Linked DNA regions of Homo sapiens: region 1 is linked to region 2. The links are contacts of gene promoters, found by promoter capture Hi-C in blood cells and fetal thymus (Javierre and others, 2016). All regions are on one chromosome and are shown on one strand. The core of a region is centred on a gene start or on the middle of the fragment in contact, and the rest is flanking DNA. Distances in the headings are between cores, read along the strand shown. Region 1 overlaps GABPA (GA binding protein transcription factor subunit alpha). Region 2 holds the start of LINC00158 (long intergenic non-protein coding RNA 158).

Region 1 (2,700 bases), core at 138-2,637, 310 kb before region 2:
TTCACGTGCATATCTAGCAGAATGCGCAGGCTCCAGCAGGCTTTTTTGGGGATGATGAAGAAATGAAGACCCTCTGTTTTTGGTTTTTTTTTTTCTTGCTGATGCTGGTCTAATAAGCCTTCCTTTTCTCCAATAAAGCCTATTCCTTAACTGGTGCTATGTGTAAAATTGTGGAATTCATCCTGAGGGCTGAAGAAAACAGGTGGAAACCGAGTAGGGATCTACCTTGAAGGACAACATAAGCTTCCAGGGCAAGAATATGTGTTCACAAATATATACAAAGTACTCTGAAGAGTACTACCTTCAGCAGGCACTCCACCAATATGTGTTGAATAAATGAATAAGAACTATTTCACACCATATAAAATGAACTACACATGCCTTAAAGGATTAAACATACAAGGCAAAACTATGAAACAGAAGAAAATGGTGGGGACATTTTTGTGGTCTCAGGATAGAAAAAGATTTCTTAAATAAAATTCCAAGAACATAACCGTAAGGAGAAAAATCTGATTACATAAAAATCAAGATTTATGTTCAACAGACAGGCTACAGAATGGAAAGATGTTTCCAATACCCAAAAGTGACGATGGAATAGACAATGGCCTGGAATTTGATAACCAAAAAAAGGGACAAATTAGAAAAGTAGTTAAAGCATAGGAAAAGGATATTCACATAACGGGAAACCAAAATAACTCAGGATACAAAGAAATGCCCAAATTCAAATCATTCAAAAGTTCAATTTAAAACAAGAAACTACCACTTTATACCATGTGTGTGTTGGGGGCAGGGGGCGGCGGCGGCGGCAAATGTCAGAAAATTAAATAACGAGAGCAGTTAGCAGGGACATAAGATTCCCCTATCTCTGGAGATGTGGTGTACACACAGGTGTAGACATTCTGGAGAAAAGTATATCAAGCATACTCATACCTATAACCCAGCAATTTCATCCCTAACTAAGCATTCCAGAAAAATTCTCAAATTGGTTAACAGGATTGATTGACAATGTTCAGGGCAGCTTTATTGGTGACAGCTGGTGCCAATCCAAGTGTCTATTTTAAGAAAGTATTAATCAAAGAAAATGTGGAGAAAGTATACACTATGGAATTTCAGTATTGGTTAAAAGGAAATAATGTCCACACAAAATAGATATATTATAAAAAACTGTTGTCTACAGAAAAAAGTGAGAATCAGGTTTATAGCAGAATAGCACTTAAAAAAAATCACTTATTTTCAGGGCTTATAAAGAGGTCCACTCCCATCTCCACAACCAATTTTTTTAAAATTAGAAAACATAAATTTTCTGGAAACTTTGGCAAGATAGAAAAAAAAGCATTATGATGTAGCCAGAGGCTGAGAAGTGGCCCTAATGGCGTATCAGCAGGGACACCTGGGGCTCCCCTAACATAAACACTAAAATAGGAAGTTGCTACAAAGAAATTTATCCTATGATCTTTCAAAAAATTTATAGACCAATCCCTAGAAAGTGCCAAATAGAGAAAAAACAAAACAAAACAAAAACCCATGCCCTTTTGGAGAAAAAAAAAATTACTCAGTTTCTTAAATGATCTGTCAAAAAATATTACTCAGTCTCTTAAATCTTTCTTTCTCTCCTGGTTCTCTATGCTTAGTCCAGAGAAGCAAAACAGAGATTTGAGAAATAGTCCAAATCTTTCATATCAGTTTTTGAGTGAGTCTTATCTCTTTTTCTGAAACCAATTCCTCAGGCTTCTATGTCAATACTTAGGAAAACTGAGAGAAAATTACTTGCAGTTTCTCCGTCTAAGGGCTGCCCCCGCCAGAACTGCACAGAACAATTTCATATACTTTGACACTCTGGTTCTGCTGGATTAAATCCAACCTGGGGTTCGGAATGTTTCACAAGATGGGATACAAACTAAACTTGAATTTAACGAAAAATTCTGGGAACGGCTAGTGTCTTTTAAAATACAGATAGGTGTAACATTCCCTTTTGAAACTACAGATAAATTTGAGAATTGTCCTTCATTGGAGAGCATTATTACAGAGCTTAGAACATTTTGTTCCCAATATATTATAAGTGGAGTGTGGGGGTACCTGCGAGATTAACTGCACATTTTCCTAAGTTATCAAATGCTTTTCTGTGTCTGAGGAAATTAAAAGACATTTTTATTTTCAAAAATAAAGGTAGCAGTTAAGAAAAAGCAAAGCATACATATCTATGTAATATAAAAAGAGAAAGCACATACAGTGAAAGATTAACAGTTGGGACCCTCAGGTGAAGGGTATCTGCGTGTTCACTGCATGATTTTTTCCCCAATTCTTCTGTAGGTTTGGAGTTTTATATATAAAGAGTTGAGGGAAGGCTAAAGTCAACAGTTTTAATTTAGTACTCGGTCTGATGATTTGCTTCAACCTAACATCTAGCTCATGATTTAATTACTTCATTACTATACATGCCTCATGACAGATGCTCTTGTATACACAATTCAGGTAAAATTGACTTGAAGTCCACTCAGCGTCACTGTATGTCTAAAAATAAAGAAGCTTGGAAAGCCTGGATGGAACCCTGAGAGACAGGCTAGTCCCTCAAGCAGTTGCTAAAGAGTTGAGCGGTTTCTTCTGAAGTTCAAGATAACACTACCGAAGAATGTTATCACCGCCTCGTTCTACAATTCGCTCAAGTGAATCCTGCTAAATCTTTGCTCTTCTCACGAGTCA
Region 2 (2,700 bases), core at 138-2,637:
GAACCATGTGACTATCCTACTCCACTCCGTCCTTTTTTGTTATTAAATTGTACTGGAAATTTGGGCTTTCAGTGATTGTATTTTTTTCTGAACATGCATTTTTTTTTTAGAAAAATGAACTGACTAGTTTTTTTTAAATGAAATATGATTAAGAGAAAATAATCTCTGATGGGCCCATAACCAGCAACTTTGGATATTTTTCATTAAGTGGAAGAAAAATATAGACTTTGGCAATTGAGACGATCTTCATTAATAAATAAAAGGATTGTTCCAGATGTGCTATAAAATAAATACATTGAGAAGATGTGAAAAGCAAGAGGGTTTAATACACAGCCAAAATTTTAGTGTCTCTATTGGTAATAATCAGAATAACTTGTTTGATTATACCATTGTGATTTAGTTGGATCACATAATATGTTGGTATTTGGCCATTTGGGGCCATGAAACAACATTTTCTTATGGTTCAATCCCCAATAATGGGAGATTTTTCTCTCCCTCCTCTGTGTCCCAGGAAATGCTTCATTTCCCATGAGCCCATTGAAAAGAGGCTGACTTAGGTTGAATTTGCTGACAAGTGTGTTGGTTCTTCTTTCTTCCCCATTTCTATATGTTTGTCCATCTTCCATGTGGAAGCTGTGGACTAGTTAGAGGTAATCTGCTACTTGATCAAAAAGGATAAAGAAGTTCATGAAACTTCAATGACCTCTGTACTTACAAGTCTCTTTTAGAGAAAATGGCCTGAAGCAGCATCTTCCTGCAACCTTTTATATGACATTTACTCACATTGAGTGAAAAAAATGGGTTCAATGGATTGGACCAGAAATCAGGAGGTAAAGTGTACTAGTGAGAAGGAGATGAGAAATCATGTGAATTAAGAGAGATGATCTCAGTTTCTGATTTTCCAGTTCCCAATATATTTATAAGAGGTCTGGGTGTATTTTATTTTTCACTTTTGAATGTCTATGAAGTTGTCCTTTATAGTCTTCCAGCAAAAATGTTTTTATTTGCCCTCATTTGGGAAAACTTTTTTCATCACTGAATAATCCCTGACCAGCACAAAAATTAAATGGGGGTAATGTCATGTATATAATATAAACTCTTAAAGATAATGAAATACATCTACTTAAAAAGAAAAATGTTCTTTCTCTTGTGGAACTTAGGTTTCAGAATGGAAGTGTATTTTATATTGGCCAATTGGACTGGCTGTGAAAGACCAGTAACCAAGCAAGAGAAGTAGATGTTGCTTTAATGAGGTATAAACTATATCTTGTTAAATAGGTCTTATCTTAGACAAGTAGTATAAATGCACACCCAAACATCATTCATTTGCAATACAGAGGCATTTAGAAGTGATTCACATGGATTTTTTCCTTTTATTTTTGGAAAGGATTAATCTAAGCTTCTGCTGTGTATGGACCTGTGGCTACATTACAAAATTCAGTTGTGAAGCTATAAAATCAATTAGTCTAGACCTCAAATCTTATTTCCTATGAAAAGCCTCAAACTTGTAGCTGTATGAACAAGTGTTTTTGGAATTTTTTTTTTTTTGCTAGAATGGAGAGAACACACTGGAGATCACAAATGCATTTATTCTTTTTCACCAACTGTTTCATTGGCCTTAAAAAATACTAGGCTAAACTTAAGTGGTAAAGATCTGAAATAAAAAGATGCATCTTTATGTCTGAACAGCAATTTTTCATAGGTCTCTAATAACTTGCATTTCCTTATCTATGGATAAGGAGATCTGAAATTGATCTACATTTTCTTTAGTAATGTTTTCTCTGTTTATTGAGAACAGATATCTTCATCTCCTTCATGCATTATCCTTAGTAACAGATGTCAGTAGGATCCAGAGCCATTTTGGAACTTTACCAAGGATTAAGGATGAGCACAGATCACATCAAGAGTCTGTAAGAAGACAGTATTTCTGATTTAGACCCATAAAGACAGTATCTCATAATTGTGAGCAAAGATTGCATGTGAAGGATTATATTTGTTTTTCCTGACAAGATGTTGCATACTATGGAATGTAAATTTTTGTGATGATTGGAGAGGAACTGAGCTCCTTTCTAGCTCAGTTTCTTTCTAGCTCAGTCCCTTTCCAATCACCATAAAATGGAAGCACAAACCTTCAACAAAATATATTCCTTAGCTGAGCTTGAGATTTTGCATAGCCTCTCATTTATTCTTTCTAGAATCAGTAAAGTGCATTAGGATTCAGAAGACTCCACTTGTTCTATTTGCTCTCCATTGCATTATGACTTCATCAGGCACTGCTATCATGGGGCACTGGTAACAAATGTATGTACTTTCTAAATACTTACGATGTAGTAGCTAGGTGGCTACATGTTGGGCAAAATGGGATAAGACAATATCATTTTAACATGCTTCAAGTACTATGTCAAGGTCTTACTATGTACTATTTCATTTTAATCCTAAAAAAAAAAAAACACTCAGAAGAAGGTATGATCGGGTATATTTTATAGATACAGAGGCTAGAGTTCAGAGACATGAACCTACCTGGCCCCCTCTGCACATAAACAATTATTAAGTAAGTGGATGTTTCGGGAGTCAAATCCAAGTTTATTTTGTTCCAAATCTGCTTCTCTTAATTAATATATTCTACTGCTTCCAGATACCATTATTTACCTTTAAGTGACTGAGATTCTAATGATACTGGTAAACCTGTTAGTAATAAAC

The links. The method cuts DNA at HindIII sites, captures the fragments that hold promoters and counts their contacts. A CHiCAGO score of 5 or more calls a contact.
Region 1: a contact is called between a fragment that was not itself captured here and the fragment with the promoter of LINC00158 in region 2, in 1 of 17 cell types (M0 macrophages). The highest score is 5.4, in M0 macrophages.

Annotation. Positions count from the first base shown.
Region 1 is chr21:25,736,319-25,739,018 of GRCh38, reverse strand. The region is part of intron 1 of GABPA (GA binding protein transcription factor subunit alpha); the gene reads right to left. Among named protein-coding and RNA genes, the nearest start is that of GABPA, 2.7 kb to the right of the region's middle. The HindIII fragment of the contact is 2,283 bases long and covers 246-2,528 here.
Region 2 is chr21:25,430,388-25,433,087 of GRCh38, reverse strand. LINC00158 (long intergenic non-protein coding RNA 158) reads left to right here and starts at 1,387. Exons shown (of 5, transcript NR_024027.2): 1 at 1,387-1,910. The HindIII fragment of the contact is 1,417 bases long and covers 1-1,401 here.